3 separate regions of the Homo sapiens genome follow, and all the other regions are linked to region 2. The links are contacts of gene promoters, found by promoter capture Hi-C in blood cells and fetal thymus (Javierre and others, 2016). All regions are on one chromosome and are shown on one strand. Each heading gives the region's core, a stretch centred on a gene start or on the middle of the fragment in contact. The rest is flanking DNA. Distances are from core to core; before and after follow the strand shown. Region 1 has its middle 37 kb from the start of BECN2. Region 2 holds the start of WDR64 (WD repeat domain 64). Region 3 has its middle 14 kb from the start of MAP1LC3C.

What was found. The method cuts DNA at HindIII sites, captures the fragments that hold promoters and counts their contacts. A CHiCAGO score of 5 or more calls a contact.
Region 1: a fragment that was not itself captured here is called in contact with the fragment with the promoter of WDR64 in region 2 in 5 of 17 cell types (activated CD4 T cells, naive CD8 T cells, naive CD4 T cells and 2 more); the score reaches 6.4 in activated CD4 T cells.
Region 3: a fragment that was not itself captured here is called in contact with the fragment with the promoter of WDR64 in region 2 in 5 of 17 cell types (total B cells, total CD4 T cells, monocytes and 2 more); the score reaches 7.4 in total B cells.

Annotation. Positions count from the first base shown.
Region 1 is chr1:241,918,836-241,922,485 of GRCh38, reverse strand. No RefSeq gene overlaps it. Among named protein-coding and RNA genes, the nearest start is that of BECN2, 37 kb to the left of the region's middle. The HindIII fragment of the contact is 7,553 bases long and covers 1-3,650 here.
Region 2 is chr1:241,650,769-241,654,434 of GRCh38, reverse strand. It overlaps WDR64 (WD repeat domain 64), which reads right to left and starts at 2,154. Exons shown (of 28, transcript NM_001367482.1): 1 at 1,806-2,154. The coding sequence starts at 1,950. The HindIII fragment of the contact is 1,763 bases long and covers 1,630-3,392 here.
Region 3 is chr1:242,011,345-242,014,791 of GRCh38, reverse strand. No RefSeq gene overlaps it. Among named protein-coding and RNA genes, the nearest start is that of MAP1LC3C, 14 kb to the right of the region's middle. The HindIII fragment of the contact is 7,750 bases long and covers 1-3,447 here.

The sequences.
Region 1 (3,650 bases), core at 216-2,715, 270 kb before region 2:
CTCCAGCCTGGGTGACAGAGCGGAACTCTGTCTCAAAAAAAAAAAAAAAAAAAAAAAAAACTCCAAGGCAGAGATCTTCCCATGGCTGTATCGGCTGCCTTGTTTTGATTTATAACTGTAGATTCTCTTCCATAAACTGAAAAGTTTGCAAAAATTACTGTTTCATGGCTTATCTAGGAATCATATCGAAAATGTTGCTGTTATTTTTAGTGTGGCACAATAACTTTGTATGCTGTATTTCAATCTAAATAGAATTTTCTTTTTTTTTTTTGAGACGGAGTTTCGCTCTTGTTGCCAGGCTGGAGTGCAGTGGTGTGAACTCGGCTCGCTGCAACATGCGCCTCCCGGGTTCAAGTGATTCTCCTGCCCCGGCCTCCTGAGTAGCTGGGATTACAGGCGCATGCCACCATGTCTGGTTAATAGAATTTTCTAATGTTAAAAAATGAAAATAAAATGCAAAGCCATGATTTGTGGTAGCCTCTTGCTCATCGAGGGGGAAGTGTAAACCTAAAGCCCTTTCTCATCCCTCCCTCTTTAGCTCCGTCTCTGCTGTCTCTTTTCCACTTTAACACACGGGGTGAGTCCCACACTAGCTAAACCACCCCTCTTCTTACAGGTCATACTGTTTCTATTTTTGTTTTTTTTTGTTTTTTTTTTCTGAGACAGAGTTTCTCTCTTGTTGCCCAGGCTGGAGTGCAATGGTGCGATCTCGGCTCACCACAATCTCCGCCTCCCGGATTCAAGCAATTCTTCTGCCTCAGGCTCCTGAGTAGCTGGGATTATAGGCACCCGCCACCACGCCCAGCTAATTTTGTATTTTTAGTAGAGATGGGGTTTCTCCATGTTGGTCAGGCTGGTCTCGAACTCCCAACCTCAGGTGATCTGCCTGCCTTGGCCTCCCAAAGTGCTGGGATTACAGGCGTGAGTCAACACACCTGGCCCATGCTGTTTCTTTATGTTCCTCCTCTGCCCCATCTGCTCCCTAGACTAAGAATTAATCTCTAGACTCTTCATCATCTGCAGTTACTTCCTCGTCTTGGAAGATTCCACTCAAGTGCCATGTTCTGCATGAAAACTCACCTGCCCCTCTACTCCGACTCCAAGCCCAGGCACAACTGGCTACTCTCCCCATTGCAGCCCCACCATTCCATATCAGGCCCTCTGTATCATCCTGCCTAGAACACTCTGTTGCCGTTTTCCTTTTTCTTTCTTTTCTTTCCTTTCCTTTTCTTTCCTTCCTTTCCTTCCTTTCTTTCTTCCTTTCTTCCCTTCCTTCCTTCCTTCTTTCTTTCTTTTCTTTTCTTTCTGACAGAGTCTTGCTCTGTCACCAGGCTGGAATACAGTGGCATGATCTCGTCGCACTGCAACCTCTGCCTCCTGGGTTCACGCCATTCTCCTGCCTCAGCCTCCTGAGTAGCTGGGATTACAGGCACGTGCCACCACACCCAGCTAATTTTTGTATTTTTAGTACAGACAGGGTTTCACCATGTTGGCCAGGATGGTCTCCATCTCCTGACCTTGTGATCCGCCTGCCTCAGCCTCCCAAAGTGCTGGGATTACAGGTGTGAGCCACTGCACCCGGCCCTATTGCAGTTTTCTGTGTACATGTTTGTCTTCCCCACCTGGATGCAGAAACCTGAGCTGAGTCTTCTGCTACAGTGGCCCACAGTTAGGTGCCACAAAAATCCAAAAGATACATTTTTATATTTTTTGACAAATGAAAAAAATATATCAGCCTAGGGCCGTGGCTCATGCCTGTAATTCCAGCACTTTGGGAGGCCAAGGTGGGAGTATTGCTTGATCCCAGGAGTGTGAGACCAGCCTGGGCAACTTAGCAAGATCCTGTTCCTTCCAAAAAAAGTATAAAAAATTGGCTGGGCGCAGTGGCTCATGCCTATAATCCCAGCACTTTGGGAGGCCGAGGTGGGTGGATCAGGAGTCATAAGTTCAGGAGTTCGTGGAGGCCAAGGTGGGTGGATCACGAGGTCAGAAGTTCATGTTCAGCCTGATCAACATGGTAAAATCCCGTCTCTACTAAAAATACAGAAAATTAGTCGGGCATAGTGATGTGTGCCTGTAATGCCAGTTACTTGGGAGGCTGAGGCGGGAAAATTGCTTGAATCTGGGAAGTGGAGGTTGCAGTGAGCCGAGCTTGTGCCATTGTACTCCAGCCTGGGCAACAAGAGCGAAACTCTGTCTCAGGAAAAAAAAACAAAACACATATATATATATAATTAGCTGGGCATAGTGATACACACCTGTAGTCCTAGATATTGCAGAGGCTGAGGTGGGAGAATCACCTGAGCTCAGGAAGCTGAGGTTGTAGTTAATCGTGATCACGCCACTGCACTCCAGTCTGGATGTTGGAGTGGGACCTTGTCTCAAAAAAAAAAAAAAAAAAAAAAGGAAAAAATATATCATTTGGCATCATGAACAAATGATATAGTAATAGTGTTTTTTGTGTGCTTCCTCGCACATTTGTGAGCCTGCCTTCCCCATGGCTGACCCACCCCGTTCTGACCTTCAGCCGCCACCCTTGTGGCTTGTTGACTCTGCTAGTTCAATCATGAGCATTGGTGGATGATCAGACACTGGTTGCCCAGCTGGCATCCACCCCCCTCTACCCTCACCTATAAACGACTGGATTTTCACATCCCAGCTCCCCACCCTAGTGCATTTCAGAATCAATTCAGGCCACCCTGTCAAACTCTCACTCAGTTTGGTAGAGGACAAGGTTCACTCCTGTGGATTAAGGAGGACCAAGAGAATCCACTGTAGGGGTTAGACCATGAGCAACAGTGGAAAGAAATTGGGCAAACGTCCTCACATCACATGCAGCTCTGTAAAGTGTATGTGTTCCTAATGCCTGGTGGACCCAACCATCAACGATAGGAGTTCATCCTTGTTGCTCCTTCCCACTCGGCCAGTGTCAGCATACATGTTTTCTCACGTGGCCACACTATATTTTTCATGCAATATGCAGTGTAGGGCCGGGCGCAATGGCTCATGCCTGTAATTCCAGCACTTTGGAAGGCCGAGGTGGGTGGATCACCTGAGGTCAGGAGTTGGAGAGCAGCCTGACCAATGTGGTGAAACCCTGTCTCTACTAAAAATACAAAAATTAACTGGGCATGGTGGCGTGCACCTGTAATCCCAGCTACTCAGGAGGCTGAGACAGGAGGATTGCTTGAACCCAGGAAGTGGAGGTTGCAGTGAGCTGAGATCACGCCATTGCACTCCAGCCTGGGCAACAGAGTGAGACTCCATCTCAAAAAACAAAACAAAACAATATGCAGTGTGCACTCATGAAAGTGAAAAACAGACTCAGCTGGATTTCTGAACATGGTAGGGCCTTGGCCTGATGCAAGGCGTGAGTCACAGCTTCGCTTCCTTTGTGTCCTCACAGGACATCAGGGAAGGACCCGGTATGCCTCATCAGGGGCCTCTCCACTCCTTCCAGTCTCCTGGGGCTCCCTGGAGGGAGGGGAAAGGACTGATTTGGAGCAGGGAAGGGCCATGGGGCTTTTCGGTCAATGAGGCACAGCATTGTCTCTGGATTATACAGAATTTCCAGAGAAATGCACAGGAAAAGAGAAGAGTAGAAAAGTGAGAGGATTTCAGTCTCTGATTTTAGGAGGAAGCTGCTGACT
Region 2 (3,666 bases), core at 905-3,404:
GAATTTGGCAACTATATTAGCTTATCACATAGCTTGGTTAGAGCATTTTCAGCAAAGTGATCAGAGAAGCCAGACCTGAGTAGATTGAAAGTTAAGTGGTGATATTGTCAGGAAATTCAGTGGAGAAGGAAAGGAGAGGCATACAGTGGTAGCTTAAAGAAAAGAGAAAGTCAAGGTCATGATGCTTGAGTATATTTTTAGACTGAGAGGACAAATCCAGTAGAAAAGGAGATTTTGAAGCTGCTGCAGCAAACTGATAGCTTTGAAGGGGAGGAGAAATAGAAAGGACAGCTGCTGCTTTCAGTGATTCAGAAGTGGAAAAGGGGGGTTTGAGAGAATTCTTGTCTTTTGACCTTGCTTTCTTTTATGACGTAGAAAACTTGGCTGAGAGAAGCAGACATCCCATAGAGAATTCAGAAAAAGTGTCAAGGGTTTGAAAAACCAATTAGAGAGAGGTAAAACAAACTGACTAGGAAAAAATGCAAGTTTTGTTGAGTAGTTTAGAAGGCCCAGTCAAGTTCCCAATCACCGAAAAAGCATATCCAAAAGGTCCAAGTCTTAGCTTTAACACTTAGAAGTTGGGTGACTTTGGCCGGGCACGGTGGCTCACACCTGTAATCCCAGCACTTTGGGAGGCCATGGCAGGTGGATCACCTGAGGTCAAGAGTTCAAGACCAGCCTGGCCAACATGGTGAAACCCCGTCTCTACTAAAAATACAAAAAATTAGCCGGGTGTGGTGGTGGGTGCCTGTAATCCCAGCTACTTGGGAGGCTGAGGCAGGAGAATCACTTGAACCTGGGAGGCAGAGGTTGCAGAGAGCCGAGATCGCACCATTTCACTCCAGCCTGGGCAATAGGAATGAAACTCCGTCTCAGAAAAAAAAAAAAAAAGAAAAGAAAAGAAAAGAATTTGGGTAACTTGGGCAAATGATTTATCTTCAGCTCCCATTTTTTCCACAAATAAAATGAACATAATGACATTGATTAACATGACTATAAATTATTAAATACTATTCAATTAATACCAGCTTGGGTTTGAACACCCAAAGTCAAGATTTTCACTTACAAATTACTATGCAGCCTGGCACACTCAGAGGCTGGCTATACTATCCCTTTAGCAATTATATGGGCTCTGCTCCTTTCATTGCAACAGCAGGGTTTGTTCTGTTAGTCTTTCACTCTGCCATGTAGCTTTATTTTTCACAGCTGTCCTCAATACGCCAAAGCTGTACACTACACCACTCCCCTTGAATCTTGTCTATGCACTGGCATCTCTGCTGCAAATCCTCCTGTAAGACCACTGTCCACCATATTCTCCTTAGCTTGCATCCTCAAGATCATTCCTGCCTAGAGATATGGAGAGTGGCCAAGACAATGGAATCATGGTGAGGCAGGAAGCTGCACTTCTTATGAAAGTCTTTATGGTCTCATGATATCTTTAGGCTAAGAAAAAGCAGTGCTATACATTACTGAGCATCCCAGGTCAACCAGTGAGCCATCAAATGGCAGCGTCTACAGAAGAACACTGGACGTCATTTAATCCAATCCCATAGTTTTACAATTGAAGCAACTTCGGTTCAGAGAAGTAAAAAAAAAAAACAAAAACAAAAACAAAACAAAACAAAAGCTTCCTCATGTCCGCTTTGTTATTTAGGGACAGAGAAAGAACAAGAACTGAGGTCTTCATCCCCTTTCAGCACCCATTCTTTCACATTAAGCTCTGATGCTTCTCTCTGATGGCTTAAAACATTTTCCAGTTCTAACCAACAGACCCAATTGGACTATCGTGTAATCACTGATCTTACCTTCTTTATGGATAAATAAGCCTGCTCTTTCATCTCTTTTCTGGGCTGCTGTTTGTTCAACCAATTTTTCAAACCTGTTCAAAGCCTTTTTGAAATTGCTCATCTGAAGTGCCATGTTGAGACGCTTTTCCTTCCTGATATCCATAGGGACATAGGGGATCTTTTACTTCTGTACAGAAAGAATACTGCAAGTTTACCAATTTGGAAAACTTTCCAGTTGTTACAGTGCCTCCCTGCTGTCTCAGTTTTTGCCCTAGGTCTAATTCCTTTGATCTTAAAATCCCATAGTGCGGGTAGGAGTAAGAGTTGCCACTAGGATGTTAGCAGGGAGGAAAGCTGATTTAGGTCTGATGCATTTCATACAGACAAACATTTCAGTAAAAATCCTGACCTCACAATGTCATCAGTGTCCTTCATAGGGTCCTCATTGCATCATAATATCTCTGTAACATCCTACTTCCTTCATAAGGAGGAGATTGAGATATTTTTTTCCCCACAGACTGTGTGTGTGTGTGCGCGTGCACATGTGTGTGTTGTGTATACTGCTTGAGAGGGAAAAGGAATGAGTAAATAACAAGTAAGAAAACTGGGTAATACTTTCTCCCTCGTGTATCTCTTCTCACCTCAAACCTTTTGCCTTCCTCACAATACCGCGGAAAGTAAAGTTTGGCCAGGCACGGCGGCTCATTCTTGTAATCCCAGCACTTTGGGAGGCCGAGGTGGGTGGACCACCTGAGGTCAGGAGTTCAAGACCAGCCTGGCCAACATGGTGAAACCCCCGTCTCTACTAAAAATACAAAAATTAGCTGGATGTGGTGGCGGGCACCTGTGATCTCAGCTACTCAGGAGGCTGAGGCAAGAGAATCACTTGAACCTGGGAGTCAGAGGTTACAGTGAGTTGAGATCACACCACTGCACTCCAACCTGGGTGACAGAGTGAGACTTCCTCTCAAAAAAAAAAAAAAGTAATATTCACACTTATTCTTGCCACTGTACTGGATATGGAAATTCGAACTTCTAAAGATGAAATGTATTTCAGCACCTGTCATTTCTACCACAAACATTTTTAGAGGTCATAGGGAATACAAATGCTCTTCTTCCTTTGTGCATTGTCCTTCGATTGAAATAATAAAGTGAGCCAAGGATAAGGAAGGAGTGGCTTCTGATTATGAGGACAGCTTTTCAAGGTAAGAGGTCAGATGAATTAGAAGAGGCCTTTCTGCACATCTCCTTCCCAGTCATTGCAATCTCCAATCCGACTTAGTCCAAATGCTATTGACTCCGGTTTTCCAATTTTCAACTTTTTATGGGAAGGAGAAGTTGTTTAATGTTTCTCAACAATTAGTTAACTTCCTATGGCTTAGGTGAGTTAGATAAATTTCCTACCCCTTGGTAGTCCATCTTTTAAAACATTCTTCAAGAACTTGCATTCAGAGATGAAGCAGATGGCATTTCAGAGCACCTCCAATTCCAGTACTGTCTTCTTGGTGTCCACCTCTAACTATCTGTTAGGAGAGCGCAGTAAGATTTTATTTAAAGAAAAATCCCCCAACCCCATTTGTTTCTCCTCCTTTTTCCTTTAAAGCTTTCAAACCACTGTACAGTGATGTCTGGAGAACCACTCTTCCTACAATTCTAATGCATTCACCATTAATTCATCTAGGAAATATTTACTGAATACACACTTCATGCTAGAGGCTGTTTTAGACACTAAGGATACAGCAGTGAATAAAATAGCTTCTCAAGTTTATAGACTAATGCAGAAGACAGACAAACAAATAAATAATGTATCAGTGAGCAATTGTGCTACGAAGAGAGAGGAATTTTGTGTGTATTAGGGTGGGGGTAAAAATCAAAGTAA
Region 3 (3,447 bases), core at 696-3,195, 360 kb before region 2:
CATTCAATCTGCAAATATCACCCAACCACATTCACTCCTTCTCAGGAATTAAATGACCTGCATGTGTTAAAAAAGGGCGGCCAGGCATAGTGGCTTACAGCTGTAACCCTAACACTTTGGGAGGCCGAGGTGGGTGGATCGCTTGCGCTCAGGGATTCGAGACCAGCCTGGGAAACATGGTAAAACCCTGTCTCTACCAAAAACACAAAAGTTGGCCGGGCGTGCTGGTGTGCAACTTTGGTCCCAATTACGTGGGAGGCTGAGTCGGGAGGATCACTGGAGCCTGGGAAGTTGAGGTTGCAGTGAGCTGTGATCATGCCACTGCAGTCCAGCCTGAGCAACAGAGCAAGACCCTGTCTGGGGAGAAAAAAAAAAAAAGCATTTTCCCTCTTTTTCAGTCCTCAGCAAGATTTGAGTGACAGTCCCTCCTTTGAGGCATACACCTTGCTTCCATCACACAGTCTCTGGTTTCACCCCATCTCATTAATTCACTTGTGTCTCATTGGCAGGCTCAGCCTCTTCTCTACCGTCTTTGATGATTAGAATTGCTCTAGGCTCCGACCTAGCTCCCCTCTTTTCTTACTAGATATTTTCTCCCCAGGCATCTCAGCAACACCCATGTCTTCAGCTCTCTTCAACATGAACTCCAGTTGCTTAAGCCATAAACTAAGAGTTATTTCATTCTATGCCGTTGATCTTCTTAAGCCAAACTTCCAACTTTTCTCCACTAAACAATGACAATAGCCCCACCTCCAGTCTATTCTCTGCAGTCCTACCCGAACACGTTTTTCAAACTGCAAATTGAATCCATTCTTCTCTGTTTAGGTGGTTTCAGTGGTTTGCATTGACTTTACAATAAAAATCACACTGTAGGGCCCCTGAGACTTCAGCCCCATTCCACATGGCTTTCCTCCTGGAGGTCCCAGCCACAGTGGCCTCCAGTACTTTCTTCTCTTCACTCTCTCTCTCTCTCTTTTTTTTTTTCCGCTTTAAGAGATGGGGCCTACATTGTCTAGGCTGGCTTTAAACTCCTGGGTTCAGGCAATCATCCCACCTTGGCCTCCTGAGTAGTTGAGACTACAGGCACATGCCAGCACATTGGCTTCTAGCACTTTCTTAAACAAACCATATCCCCTCTTTCCAAAGCTATTACCATTGCCTCAAATACTGCCCTACCCCCTCTTCCCACCTCATGCCATTGCCTTGCTTTGCCTGGTTAACACCATATGACCTCAAATATCATTTTAGGAAAACTTCCTTGACCTTCCTCTACATCAACTAAGTCAGGTTCCCTAAGAAATTCTCTCCCAGCACCACGGGCCCCTCTTCATCACATGTAGCACAGTTGAGTTCCTTTGGTCATTATCTGCTGCCCCACTCAGCTGTAGGCTCCCTGCTTGATGTAAGAGATGCTGTTGGGTTTTTTTTTTTTTTAAGACGGAGTTTCGCTCTTGTCACCCAGGCTGGAGTGCAATGTGCGATCTCGGCTCACTGCAACCTCTGCCCCCCAGGTTCAAGCAATTCTCCTGCCTCTGCCTCCCGAGTAGTCAGGATTACAGGTGCCTGCCACCATGCCCGGCTAATTTTTATATTTTTTTAGTAGAGATGGGGGTTTCACCATGTTGGCCAGGCTGGCCTCGAACTCCCAAACTCAGTGATCCACCCGCCTTGGCCTCCTAAAGTGCTGGTATTACAGGCATGAGCCACTGGGTCCGGCCTAGTTTTTACTTTTCTGTTGTATCCCTATAACATACTAGTACACCTATCACAAGTTAGATACGATAAATATTGGGGAATTAAGAATGAATGAATATTGTTGCCGGGAGCCGTGTCTCGCGTCTGTAATCCTTGGGAGGCCGAGGCAGGTGGATCACCTGAGGTCAGGAGTTTGAGACCAGCCTGGCCAACATGGCAAAACCCCATCTCTACTAAAAATACAAAAATTAGCTGGACGTGGTGGCACACACCTGTAATCCCAGCTACTTGGGGGGCTGCAGCAGGAGAATCGCTTGAACCCGGGCAGTGGAGGTTGCAGTGAGCCGAGATTGTGCCATTGCAATCCAGCCTGGATGACAGAGCAAGACTCTGTCTCAAAAAAAAAAAAAAAAAAGAATTAATATTGTTGTGAAGCCAAAATAATTGTCTCCATTTTTTTAAGAGATGAGACCTTGCTATGCTGCCCAGGCTGGACAATAACTTGTCTTCATTTTTACAGATAGAAAGCAGAAGTTCACTAGCAAGAAAGAAACTCCCAGAATCAGGGAGCTGAGACATGTCTGACTCAGCTTGCATTAAGGCTGTAGCCAAAGCTGATACATTCCCAGGGCTTCAGAGCAGCAGACTCTTGTGAGAGGTCACTGTTGCATCCTTCTCCAACCTCTAAAGGTGCTAGAAGTGGGTTTCCTAGTAGAGAACAGGACTAATGCCCAGTTTCCTCCAGGTCCAGGCAGATCCTGAGCACCACAGATGCTGAAAACAAGAAATGCCTCTGGCTCTTGAAAAAAGCAATTTGACAGCTGGCTACTTCTAGGAAAGCCTGCAGTCCTTCCCCAGCCAGCTTCCAGACTCCTTCACCCAACACATTAGATATTTTCCCCCCTTTTTCTACTTTCCTGTGTCTAAGGGATTACTAAGCCCTTAATGCCTCCTGATGTGAGTGCATCATTCCTCATCCTGGGTTGTGCTGTGGGAGTGGGACGCAAACACCTGCAAGGCTGAGTCACAGAGCGGGAGAAGCTGGGCTTTCTGGCAGTGGATGGCGGGAGCTGGGAAAAAGGCCGCAGCTCATTCCTTCTGGCAGGCAAGGACCTGGAAACAGCCTGTCCGGCCACAGTCTGGGCCACTTGGCCTTCATTTCCAGTGGTGTACCTGTGAGAAAAGTGGTTGGGAGCTGGGTTGTTTGTACTTTGGGGGAATCTTAGGCACATATTCTGTTTTAATAAGAAGTTGGGGGTCCATTCAGCATAAAGAATAGAGGTTTTGTGCATGTAGAGCACTAACCCTGGAGCTGCTAGGGGAATGTTTCAGGAACTATTTTCCTTATGATGGTGATGGTTCTATTTTAAGCCAACTTTAAAAATTCTAGAACAGAGGCCAGGTACGGTGGCTCATGCCTGTAATCCCAGCACTTTGGGAGGCCGAGGAGGGCGGATCACCTGAGGTCAGTAGTTCGGGACCAGCCTGGCCAACATGGTGAAACCCTGTCTCTACTAAAAATACAAAAATTAGCCGGGTGTGGTGGCAGGCACCTATAACCCCAGCTACTTGGGAGGCTGAGGCAGGAGAATTGCTTGAACCCAGGAGGCGGAGGTTGCAGTGAGCCGAGATCATGCCACTGCACTCCAGCCTGGGTGACAGAGCAAGACTACATCTCAAGAAATAATAATAATAAATAAAATAAATAAATAATAGAAATAAAAATAAATTCTAGAATGGAAAGCATTATGT